Regions from separate parts of the Homo sapiens genome. Here all the other regions are linked to region 3. The links are contacts of gene promoters, found by promoter capture Hi-C in blood cells and fetal thymus (Javierre and others, 2016). All regions are on one chromosome and are shown on one strand. The core of a region is centred on a gene start or on the middle of the fragment in contact, and the rest is flanking DNA. Distances in the headings are between cores, read along the strand shown. Region 1 overlaps ARHGAP9 (Rho GTPase activating protein 9). Region 2 overlaps R3HDM2 (R3H domain containing 2). Region 3 holds the start of AGAP2 (ArfGAP with GTPase domain, ankyrin repeat and PH domain 2). Region 4 overlaps R3HDM2 (R3H domain containing 2).

What was found. The method cuts DNA at HindIII sites, captures the fragments that hold promoters and counts their contacts. A CHiCAGO score of 5 or more calls a contact.
Region 1: a fragment that was not itself captured here is called in contact with the fragment with the promoter of AGAP2 in region 3 in 12 of 17 cell types (total CD8 T cells, naive CD8 T cells, naive CD4 T cells and 9 more); the score reaches 9.2 in total CD8 T cells.
Region 2: a contact is called between a fragment that was not itself captured here and the fragment with the promoter of AGAP2 in region 3, in 1 of 17 cell types (erythroblasts). The highest score is 5.5, in erythroblasts.
Region 4: a contact is called between a fragment that was not itself captured here and the fragment with the promoter of AGAP2 in region 3, in 1 of 17 cell types (M2 macrophages). The highest score is 5.9, in M2 macrophages.

Annotation. Positions count from the first base shown.
Region 1 is chr12:57,472,720-57,475,845 of GRCh38, forward strand. ARHGAP9 (Rho GTPase activating protein 9) reads right to left here. Exons shown (of 18, transcript NM_032496.4): 10 at 3,114-3,126; 11 at 2,764-2,896; 12 at 2,572-2,679; 13 at 2,156-2,254; 14 at 1,907-1,984; 15 at 1,704-1,757; 16 at 1,323-1,457; 17 at 884-989. Among named protein-coding and RNA genes, the nearest start is that of ARHGAP9, 5.6 kb to the right of the region's middle. The HindIII fragment of the contact is 536 bases long and covers 1,391-1,926 here.
Region 2 is chr12:57,319,043-57,322,104 of GRCh38, forward strand. The region is part of intron 2 of R3HDM2 (R3H domain containing 2); the gene reads right to left. Among named protein-coding and RNA genes, the nearest start is that of STAC3, 69 kb to the left of the region's middle. The HindIII fragment of the contact is 1,306 bases long and covers 610-1,915 here.
Region 3 is chr12:57,737,365-57,740,218 of GRCh38, forward strand. It overlaps AGAP2 (ArfGAP with GTPase domain, ankyrin repeat and PH domain 2), which reads right to left and starts at 1,378. Exons shown (of 19, transcript NM_001122772.3): 1 at 1-1,378. The coding sequence starts at 882. RefSeq lists a silencer at 531-750. The HindIII fragment of the contact is 3,748 bases long and covers 1-2,854 here.
Region 4 is chr12:57,295,454-57,298,591 of GRCh38, forward strand. R3HDM2 (R3H domain containing 2) reads right to left here. Exons shown (of 24, transcript NM_001394031.1): 7 at 2,637-2,715; 8 at 1,875-1,934; 9 at 958-1,098; 10 at 1-54. Among named protein-coding and RNA genes, the nearest start is that of STAC3, 46 kb to the left of the region's middle. The HindIII fragment of the contact is 6,535 bases long and covers 1-3,138 here.

The sequences.
Region 1 (3,126 bases), core at 409-2,908, 260 kb before region 3:
GGCAGCAGCTTGCCACTTCATAGCAATCTAACTAACCCTTCAAAGTTCTGAGCAGGGAAGAGTTCACTCTGGGATTCCTCCACATGGTAACAAAAAAACCAAGGAGATACAAGGAGAATGGAGATGGACCAGTGGAGAAACCTTCAGGATACAACCTGAAGATATAACTGCCTCTTCCGACTTCAGGGGCTGCCCCAAGAGTTCTGCCTGCTCACAGTTTGGGAGTCTTTAATTCAAGTGGCCATCCTCTCTCAGAAGTCACTGCCCAGGCCCAGTTCAACCAAAGAAGCCATCAGCAATGTCCCAATGGGAGACAAAGAGGCAGAGGGAAGGGAGAAGTAAGATTTCCCTTATTCCTTTCACAGCATCTTGGTTCCATTTCCCCACTTGATGCTGACCTTTAGGTTTTGACCTAAAGTCTTTGACGGGCACGGTGTAATCCCAGCACTTTGGGAGGCTGAGGTGGGTAAATCACCTGAGGTCAGGAGTTCGAGACCAGCCTGGCCAACATGGTGAAACCCCGTCTCTACTAAAAATACAAAAATTAGCCAGGCGTGGTGGCGGGCACCTGTAATCCCAGTTACTCAGGAGGCTGAGGCAGGAGAATTACTTGAACCCGGGAGGCAGAGGTTGCAGTGAGCTGAAATTGCGCCACTGCACTCCAGTCTGGGTGACAGAGCGAGACTCTGTCTCAAAAATAAATAAAATAAAAAAATAAAGGTTTTGACTCTGGTAATATGCTCCTGCACAGAGGTTGCCTGCTTCCTCACCTGCCCATTAAACTTAGGTGCTTCCCTACCTTCACTCCACCTGCACAGAGTCCCTGTGGCATTCCCCACTCCACCTTTCCCCAGCATGAACAAAGAGGTTCTGTCTTCCTGACCTGCATAAATGCTCCAGGAGGTACCGTAGAGTGTCATGGTTGGGCTTTGGCATTGAGCCTATTAATTCTTGTATCTGAGAGAGGCACTGCTCTGATTCGGAGAGTGCTAGAGAGAGTGATGGGAAAGGCATGGTAGTAAGGTTAGGGAAGGTGCTAGGACAGGATGGGTAAATGCACTGCTCTTTCCCACAGGCATGGAAGACATCATTAATCTAGCACAGCTTTCTTTTTCACATAGCCCAACTATAGCCTCATAATTCTTTTCAATTCAGCCCTCTAAACATTCACAAAAAAGCAACTGGAGTAGGCACCTGAGTTGAACATTATTTTCCATCTCTAAAGTCAGAATGGGAAAGAAGAGTATAAGGGAACCTCTATTCTATTATTTACCACCCGTGTCCCCCACATCAAGGGTTCTTTCCAAAGCTCCAACCCTTACCAAGGGCAGCACGGAAATGGGGCAGCAGCAGTGGTGGCACCAGAGGCTGGGGCAGCTCCCGGAGAAAAAGCTTCAGGGCTCCGGTGACCACATGAATGTCATCCCACTCAGTACTGTCCAAATCTAACCGACCTTCTGGAGGGAGAAGGAGGTATAGGGGCTCATGAAGGGCCAGAAAGATTTAGAGACTGAGAGATTAGAAGTTCTGGAGAAATCCAGTCAAAGCAGACTATAGGAATGCCTAGAGGGTCTGCAGTGGGGCAAGGTAGCTAAGGTGGGGATGAGGACAACCCTCCCAGGAATAGTACATGGGGGTTTCCACGGGAAGCAAAGAGGATATGTGGAAGTTTTAGGGATCTGAAGGGTCTTCCATGTAAGTACCTTGTCCTGGCTGTTCTGGGAACACATACCTCCCATCGGAGGTGACCGCACGCTCTGCAACATGAATGAGGAGAGATCAGGAGCTAAGACATACACTTCCAGCCTGACGGCCTCTCTATTCTGCCAGCTTCCTCATGTAGGACCGCCCATGGTTCTCAGGCAAGACATTCTTAGTACAACCACTGGCCCACAAGCCTTCTCACCTCTGTCCACCAGAAAGCGAAGCTTCTGGACCACTGCCAAGTTCCCGCTCACCCGATAAATGCCATCCACATCTAGACCTGGGAGATGAGGAAGGAGTAGATAAGGACTGCTGCTTGAAAGTGTGTGTGGTGAGGGATATAAGGGTGGAGAGAAAAAGGGCAGTAGGAAGACTAGGTAGAATGGGGGAGGCAGAAAATTCTAGGCCTTAGCCTGTTGGAAGAGGATTCTGGGGTCTCTGAGAAAATGACCTCTTTTATCCACAGCAGCAATGCAGAGCCGCAAAAAGCTGGGCACCGTGTCTCCTTCCCGCTGGCAGAGTGATTCCAACTGGCAGCCGAACACCTGGTCTGGGGAAGTAGAGTGAGGCGGGAAGCCAGTGCCAGCGTCACTCACAGGAGCTCTTCTCAGCATAGGTCTTTATCCTTAAGTGAGGCTGGTCCTCCTGGCTGCCTGTGCCAGGCCTGGGCAAGGAAATACACTCCACCTCCCTTCCCCTGCTTCAAACAATCTGGCAAAGGGGTACAGGTCACCCCAGCTTCTCCCCTAAACAATCTGGGGTAGTGGGAAAGCAGCAGTCACAGAAGGTTGTGGTCTAGTTCTGGGAAGCTCTACTCTGAGCCTCGCTGGAGTTTTCTTATCCATGAACCTGGCCCAGCCCCCTCACCTCGGAGCAGACCCCGCTCCTGCAGGCTTTGTAAGGGCGGTCTCTTCGCGATGAGCCGCTTTAGTTTGTTGCGCACGCGGTTCTGCTCGGTGCCTTCGGGCCCCCGAACTGCAGGAGGCAGGTAGAGCGGGGCGTGAGCGCCCGGGAGCCTCGCTGCGCTCCCGGACTCTCCCTCCCCAGCCCGCGCCTCACTGGAGCTCCGGCGGCTGCTGAGGCGCAGCAGCGGCTTGGACACCAGCTCCGACTCCTCTTCTTCGTCCTCCCCGGCGCTCAGCTCCGCGGGTCCAGAGCCCGACAGACGCAGCTCCAGGGGGTTCTCCCGATCCTAGACCCGGGGCGGGCCGTGTCGAAGGTGAGAGAGGAGAGAAATCTGTATCCCTAGCTGGACTCTGACCCACTGCCGGGGTCCCACATCCCGGCCCAGGCAAGGGCTCTCCACTGAGCCCACCCTGCCCCCAACTGCTCCTGACTCCTATCGTTCCTACCCCACTCCCTTGGTCCCGGCCGGTCGGAGCCTCCCTCCGGGCCTCCACCCATCTAACCAGCCGCTCGATG
Region 2 (3,062 bases), core at 13-2,512, 420 kb before region 3:
ATGGAATCTCATAACTGTAAGGGTATTTAGAAGCTTTCTCATTCTCCATTTTTCTTTTTCTTTTTTTTGAGATGGAGTTTCGCTCTATTGCCCAGGCTGGAGTGCAAGCGGCATGATCTCGGCAACCTCCGCCTCTCGGGTTCAAGCAATTTCCGGCTAATTTTTGTACTTTTAGTAGAGAAGGGGTTTCACCATGTTGGCCAGGCTGGTCTCGAACTCCTGACCTCAAGTAATCTGCCCGCCTCAGCCTCCCAAAGTGCTAGGATTACAGGCGTGAGCCACTACGCCCAGCCTTAGCTCCATTTTTCTACAACCGTAGTCTTCCATAATTAGGTTCTTAACTCATTAGTAACTGTGAAAAATGTCCCTGCTTGTATACCTCTTAGTGAAGGGAAAGTCTTCACCTCCAGAAAGAAACCATTTCTTTTTGGAACACTTTCCTTTTAAAGAGGCAAAATTTACCTCTTTGGTAGTTCCTCCCACCGGCCCCTGTTTAGCCTTCTGTGCGAGTCATAAAGAACAAGCTTAATCTTGCTTCCCTATCAGCTCTTTGTAAAAGAAAACTTTACCTTATTTCCTTCTCTAAACATTCCCAGCTTCTTTAAGTCAAGCTTTCAAATCACATGGCTTTAAGTCTCCTTACCATTTTCTTCTAGGATAAAAGAAACTGCCCTGAAAGTAGGCAGAGGCGAGTAATGAGGGGTCAGACTGTTACTAATACAGAGTTAAGATCCACTGGAAGATAAACTAAGCATAAAACTGTATTTCTTAGGCTGAGGCTCTCTTTTGCTTTCCAAAATAACCTTTAATTAAGGTCATTTCCAGTCCTTTCAGCCAATGCAGAAGGCTCTCGTTACTCTTGGGGCATAAAGATTCCTGGAAACAATTTTTTCTGGGCCAAAACAAAAGCAAAAGAAAGCAACCAACTAAAAAAAGCCTTAGGCTGGGCGTAGTGGCTCACGCCTGCAATCCCACCACTTTGGGAGGCGGGCGGATCACTGAGGTCAGGAGTTTGAGATGAGCCTGGCCAACACGGTGAAACCCCGTTTCTACTAAAAATACAAAAAATTAGCTGGGGGTGGTGGTGCGTGCCTGCTAATCCCAGCTACTCAGGAGGCTGAAGCAGGAGAATCGCTTGAACCCGGGAGGTGGAGGTTGCAGTGAGCCAAGACTGCTCCACTGCACTCCAGCTTGGGCAACAAGAGTGCAACTCTATCTCAAAAAAAAAAAAAAAAAAAAAAAAAAAGCCTTAAACAGCTAAAATAAAGCCAGTAGTAGCTTAAAAGGCAGAGAAGTAATTCCATTCTTAATAGTTTATTTGGTATAGAGAAGAAATTAAGGGTTTGGGAGGTTTTTGATGGGAGAAGAAAGGAACTACTTCATATGTAATGGTGACTAGAACAAAGCAGACATTAGGCTCCCAGGAGGGCCTAGATGTGTGCTTCCCTACAACCTATTTGTGTACAGTGTACATTTCATCCAGCCAAATAGTACAATTTCAAAGGCAAGATGTCTCCTGAGGATACTCAGTAGCTCAAAGCTGCACAGAGGGGACTGTGAGATGTCGGGGGAACAGGTGGGGCAGTGAAGAAATAGGATAATACAGGGGAAGATTATTGGAAGCCAAGATTCACCTATTTTTTTCAGGGAGAATACTGCATATTCCCTATAATTTTTTTTACTGCTAGGGTAAGTACCTTCCATAATAGAGTGAGATTATATATCCTTCCATCAATTTATAAACAACTTTCTAGGCATTGAGCCAAAAGGAATATGTTAGATAGGGGATATTCAGAGACAGAAGAATAATTTCATTTTCTCACTTTTAATCTATGGCCAAGTAGAGAGAATGCAAGCAAGACAACGATATCTAGGTGCTAAAAATTCTGGTCTACCCTGTGGCAAATTCCTTGGAAGCTTTCCGGTCCTGTACTAATTTGTTTATCAATCATAAGTTACTCTCAATTGATACATTTTAAAAAATGTTTAAAATCTAGGGGCTCAGGAGAATAAACAAATGTAATATTATTTAATAATAAAAAAGACTGAACTATAGGCTGAGCATCCCTAATGAGAAAATCTGAAATCTGAAAGAGTACAAAATCCAAAGCTTTTTGAGCACCAATATGATGCTCAAGGGATGTACATAGGAACATTTCCAATTTTGGGTTTTGGATTATGGATGGTCAACCATAATATTCCAAAATTTAAAAAAATTTCCAAAATCCAAAAAATCTTAAATCTGAAATACAGACAGTCCCAAGCATTTTGGGTAAAGGTTGCTCAACCTTACTGTACATACTGAGACACACAAAAACATGGATAGGGCCGGGCACAGTGGCTCATGCCTGTAATCCTAGCACTTTGGGAGGCCAGGTTGGGTGGATCACCTGACGTCAGGAGTTCGAGACCAGCCTGACCAACATGGTGAAACCCCGTCTCTACTAAAAATGCAAAAATTAGCCGGGTGTGGTGGTGGCATGCCTGTAATCCCAGCTACTCGGGAAGCTGAGGCAGAAAAATTGCCTGAACCGGGAGGCAGAGGTTGCAGTGAGCCAAGAACGGGCCATTGCACTCCAGGCTGGGCAACAAGAGCGAAACTCCGTCTTGGAAAATAAAACAAAACAAAACAAAAGCATGGATGGATCTCAAAACTACTATGATAAATTAAAGAAAGTAGACTCTCCTCCCCACCCCCTGCCACCAGAACACATACTATAATAGTCTATTTATGTGAAGCTCAAGAACAAGCAAAACTAACCTACAGTGATCACAATCAGAAAATGATTGCTCAGGACTTGACTGGAAAGAGAAAGAAGGGACCCTCCAGGACTGATTGAAATATTCAATTTTATTTGATGCAGTGGTTACATGGGTGAATACAATTGTCAAAACTCATTAACTAGGCCAGGCGTGGTGACTCACACCTGTAATCCCAGCACTCTGGGAGGCCAAGGTGGGCGGATCACGAGGCCAGGAGTTCGAGACCAGCCTGGCCAATATGGTGAACCCCATATCTACTAAAAAATACAAAAATTAGCCGAGTGTGGTGGCGCTCGCCT
Region 3 (2,854 bases), core at 128-2,627:
GGTTAGCGGAGGAGGAGAGCCGGCAGGCGGTCCCGGATGCAAGTCACTGTTGTCCAAGGTCTTACTCTTGCCTTTCCGAGGGGACAACTTCCCTCGGGCTCCAGCCCCAGCCCCGACCCCACCAGAGGTCGAAGCTGTAGAGCCCCCTCCCCCGGCGGCGGCGGCGGTGGCGGCGGCAGAGACCGAAGCTCCAGTCCCGGCGCTGCTCTTTGACCCCTTGACCCTGGGCTTGCCCTCGCTTTCGGGCCATGACAGGCGGCTACCCGCGCCCTTGCCCCCGCCGGCTTTGGCTCCACTCGTGGTCACGGTCTTGCAAGGCTTGGGAGCCGGCGGAGGAGGCGCCACCTTGAGCCTCCGGCTGCCGGTGCCAGGGTGCGGAGAGGATGAGCCAGGGATGCCGCCGCCCGCCCGGCCTTCGGGCTCCGGGCCGCCCCAGCTCGGGCTGCTGAGCAGGGGGCGCCGGGAGGAGGTGGGGGCGCCCCCAGGCTTGGGGTCGGGGCTCAGTCCCCCGGAGAGCGGGGGTCCCGGAGGGACGGCCCAGAGGGAGAGGCGGCGGCCGGGAGCGGGGGAGACTGGGCGGGCCGGACTGGCCGGAGCCGGGGACAGGGCTGGGGGCTCCGCGCCCCCGGTGCCCGCGCTGCTCGTGCTGATCCACAGCGCATCCTGCCGGTGGAAGAGACGTTCGTGCCGCTTCTTGCCCGGCTCCTCCGCGCCTCGGGGGCTGCCAGGATCCCCAGTCTCGGAGCCTCTGGCACCGGCGGCGCCGGCCGCGGCCGCAGACGGAGAAGGCGGCGGCGGAGGCACCGACTCGAGCTTAACCAGGGTCAGCGAGATGAGGTAGGTCGTTGTCCGGCGCTGAAGCGCGCCCGCGCCCCGGCTCATGGGGCCCGGAGACCCCCGAGCTGGGGAGGGGAGGGGACTCCCCCGGACTGCCTCAGGGGGGCCCGGCCATGGGGCCGCCCTGCTCGCTGCCCCCAGCCCCCGGACCCCGCTGAGCCCCCGGCCCGGCTCCGCTGTCGCCGCCGCCTCCGCCGCCTCCGCTTGCGCCCCCCTCCCATCACATGGGGCGCCCCCTCCCCATGCTCCCCGCCCTGCGCCCCCACCCTCTTGGAGCCCCGGGACCTTGGTGCTGCTCCAGGGAGGCGCGCCGGACCGTCCACCCCGGCCTGGGTGGGGGCGCTGAGATGGGTGGGGGAGGGCGGGGAGGACAGTAGTGGGGGCAAATGGGGGAGAGAGAGGAAAAGGGAGCAGAAAAGGGGACCGGAGGCTAGGGGAAACGAACCTGTGCGGGGGAGGCAGGGGCGGGGAATTGGGACTCAAGGGACAGGGGCCGCGGATGCGGTCGGAAAGAGGGTCTAGAGGAGGGTGGGAAGCTAGTGGGGCTGGCCGTGCGGGGGATTCGCAGGGGCGCGGGGAGGATGCTGGGGATGGAGATACAGGAGGCGGCGGGGGAGGAAAGAGGGAACGGGAGGTGGGTGGGAACCCACGGGTCTGGGGTCTGGGAGGGGAGGGGCGTGAGATCCGGGCGAAGAGTCCGGGGGCCTCGCCTGGGCTCGGCTTGGTCCGGATGCGCGCTGTGTCCGGGCGCTCCCCTCACATTGAGGAGGAGGCGGCCCCCAGGCCCCCCCACCCTATCTCCCCCCCACCTTTTCTCCACCAGCACCGATGTCTGCGAGGGCGGTGCAAAATCCAGGGCTGGATTTCTCTCCCAAATCCTGGGCTGGATTTCCTGGGACTTGGACTCACCTCCTCCAACAACCTAGCCCCCTCCTCTCGCGCACCAAGGTTAGGAAGCGCGATTGTGAGGTATGGCATTTAGGGATAAGGGTGAAAATCGATCTATTGGGTGGACAGGGGCCGCGGTAAACAGAGCAAACCCAGGGTCACTGCCAATTCTGGGGAAGATGAAGTGGGAAAGTGGGGGCCCTGAAATCCCTTCCCCCAGGATCTCTTGTCTCCCCCAGGTACCTGGACGGTTCCCGTTCTCATGACCCAGCTCCCTTTCCCACTCACACCACCACATTTAATACTTTGACGGGGCCAAGACTTGAGCTCGACTGTCCCAAAGTGAACTTGGAAAATGTTCCCCAGGGATGGGGACAAACATGGAACTTAGCAGGGTAGGAGAGAAGGGAGAGATCTGAGTGCTGGAGGAGCCCAGGCCACAGGGTAAGTCAAAGGCTCCAGCTCTAGGAGGAGGGAGAAGGATGTGTCTTAGACTGATACCCCCCCATGCCAAAATGCATCCAGTCTCCATAGCAACCGTAGCTCCAAGAGTGCCTCAGAAACAGCGGGCAGAAGCAGAGAGGAATCCGTGTGTATGGTGGGTAGGGGACCAACCGCGGGATGCTGAATTAGTGGAGGCACTGCCCTGACACCTGGCTACCCACAGGTGGAGGATTTCACTCCCCAAGTATAAGGACCCTTCAGTTGAGGCAGTGAGAGCCGGCCTCTTCAGGGTTCCCTTTCAGTCTCCTGAGGTTTGCTGAGTGGGATTCTTTCAGAAGATTAAAGAGGAGGCAGGCAGAGTGAATGGAAACCGTCTGCTCCGTGTCCCCCACCCCTCTAGGGGTCTTGGAGTTCAAGGCTCTCTATCCTCCAGCCAGGTGAGAATCCTGAAGTGGTTAGGCCAAAGTGGAAAAGAGGTTGAGACCCCTTGGGGGTGGGGTAAGATGGGCGAAGGAAGGTCTCTCTGCAGCCTTGGAGACCCCTTCCCGGGACTTGGGGAGTCACAGCAGTCCCCTGATTTGGCGTCCCACCCTCCTGACGCAGCTGAGACTATAATAAGTGCTGCCGTGGGCGGCTCTTGGAGGCAGGAGCCCGCAGCGTGCTTGGCCTGGTGGGGGGCTGAGGG
Region 4 (3,138 bases), core at 286-2,785, 440 kb before region 3:
TGAAATTCTGTATTCTTCTCATCCTTTATATGTTCTGAGAACCTCTGTTCAGGGCTGAGATTTGGAGAGAAATGTGAAAGGAAAGGAGGACAAAGACCGTTTTGTTAGGAAGCAGACCTATTAGGTACAGCTCTCCTAAATTACACAACTCACACTCAGGGAATTTCTGGAGTAAGGAATCCAAAAAGTCACATGCAGGTTTTAATGAAATCTTCAGGGTCTGTACTTTATACATCTATAACTTCTCTTCCTCCATAGTTATATCTGTCCTATCAGTGAAGTGAAGAGAGGCTAGGGCCAGACTTCATGAAACATCAGTCTCTCTAGAATCTATCTCCAAGGCTCAGAAAGAGTAGGAATTAATTATATAACCAACCCCAACCCCAATCCCCTTCCCTGCAAAATACTTAAAAAAATTTTTTTTGTTTGTTTTTTGAGATGGAGTCTCACTGTATTGCCCAAGCTGGAGTGCATGGCGTGATCTTGGCTCACTCCAACCTCTGCCACTGGGGTTCAAGTGATTCTCCTGCCTCAGCCTCCCGAGTAGCTGGGATTACAGGCGCCTGCCACCGCGCCCGGCTAATTTTTGTATTTTTAGTAGAGACGGGGTTTCACCATCTTGGCCAAGCGGGTCTTGAACTCCTGACCTTATGATCCACCCGCCTCGGCCTCCCAAAGTGCTGGGATTACAGGCGTCAGCCACTGCGCCCGGCCATTTTTAAACTTTTTTTTTTTTTTTAAAGTAATAGAGATGGGATCTTGCTGTGTTGACCAGGCTGGTCTCGAACTCCTGGCTTCAAGCAGTCTTCCCATCTTGGCCTCCCAAAGTGCTGGGATTACAGGTGTGAGCCACCACGCCTGGCCATCTGCAAGAGACATCCTGATCCTACACCTTCCTCTTCCAACCCAGCAGGTTATCCCAGGGAAGTCTTCCCAAACCATGGTTTCCTCCCTTACATTCTTGTGTTACTAGTTTTGTTGATGATGACAGCTTTCCCAGTTTGATCAACATTGTGGTCCATCCCAAAATAGGCAGCTACCCGGTGTAATAGCATCCGGTGATATGAGGTCATCTGAGGGAACTTCTTGAACTGATTACTGAAGGGAAACCCGGGGAAAAAAAGTGAAATAAGACAAACAACTGCAATAACAACCAATTTTAATTTTTCTTACAAGTGTCTAAAGTGGAAAGTTTCTTAGGAGAAATAGACATATTATAAGGAATATAGATATTTACTAAATGGGAACCAAATAGGTTTTTCTCAGTTTCTTTATCTACAGTATTCTGCAGATTACTATGACCTACTTTCCTCATTAAGACTACTCATTGCTGGGTGCAGTGGCTCATGCCCGTAATCCCAGCACTTTGGGAGGCCAAGGCAGGCGGATCAATTGAGTTCAGGAGTTCAAGACCAGCCTGGTCAACATGGTGAAACCCCGTCTCTACAAAAAATACAAAAATTAGCTAGGCATGTGCCTGTCATCCCAGCTACTCAATGGCTGAGGCACAAGAATCACTTGAACCCAGGAGGCAGAATTGCAGTGAGTCAAGACTGTACCACGGCGCTCCAGCCTAGGCGACAAAGAAAGACTGTCTCAAAAAAAAGACTACTTATTAAGCCCTAGGTCCCACCCACCTGGATGATGTTTGACAAAGAAAAAGGAAGACATTTAAGAACAGTAAAATCTGGGACAAGTGCAAGCTGCTGAAAAGATATAAATTATTTTTCAACTCAAATCTACATAATAACTTAAAAACTTCAGTATGTTTTCAAAAATCACACTTCAAGGGGAACATCTCCTAAAATTGTACCTAAATTTATTTCCAGTGCCCCCTCCCACCTCTAATTATATATTTCATGCAAGTAACTTACTTGTTGTCATTAATAAATTCCAGAATCTCCTGTTCTAATTTTAGCAGCATCATTCTGTCCCTGTTTAAAAAAGATTAAAACAAAACAAAACAAAACAAAAAGCAGCCCTCCCATAGACATTGAAAGTGGGGATTGAAAACACAACTTGCTCATTACAGAAGCTGAAAAAGGTATATATCCAAACCCAGTAATGAACCATAATGCTGCTAAGCCTCACTTGCCTGTTTTACAATATTTTTAAAAAGAAAAACAACCCGAGTATACATTTTGCAGGTCCTCCAATCATATACTTTGTTATACCATATCAGAAATCTCACTGTTAACAACATATTCATATAAACACACGTTATAAATCTAATCGTCATTCTGTATTCCATCTTGTTATAAACAATTTTAAAGGAATTATAATTTAGCTTATGTACAAATCAATTATTTTTTCCTTCTGTGCTTTTTATTTTAGCTCTTCTTACTATCACTCCCAATGTGTGCTTTTTAATCAGTATACTCCCAAGACTTCATATTTCTTTGTTTCTGCATTCTTCTTTCACAGAAGTTTTCCCAATTCTTCTGAAAACAGAAACCTCAATGTGAGAGTATTTTGAATCCCTCACAGAATATAAAACTATACCTGACAAATACTAGGGGGACAGGAAGATGAGCATCCTAGATTCTAAGAATGGAAAAATTCTGGGAAGCCGTTTGGCCTCTTGGAATCTTGCTATCCCCTAACCCCTTTTCCTCTTATACCCATCATGTTATTACCTTGGGTTCTTTTTCAGTGTATTTACAAGAAATTCATGTAGGTCTATTCCAGTGGAGTCCGTATATTCCTGGCTGGAGTCTAGAACCACCACAACAAAAGAAATTAAAATACATGAAACTGCTTTGCATGCTATCTAATCCTAAGCAGAAGTCCACAACCTAACCAGGAGAAAAAAGAATAGGAAAGCAAAATCAAACTTCCAGGGTTTTAACATAAAATCCAGAATGACCTTGATGTGCTAGATCCCAAAATTCCTCATCAGAATGACAGAAGAAAGAATCTGGGCCATAGTATTACATCAATATTACACTGAAAAGCCATCTATCATCAATAGGTATTTACTGAATGTCCTGATCAAAATATAGCAGGTTTTATTAAGGAAAATAAATTCCAGGTAAGGGCAGTCAGGGCTGAATTTTCCAGAATCTCAGTAAATATGCCCAAATATTATTTTTTAATCCTGTTTGCCTTTTCTTATCAATTATCATTTTTATGGACTAT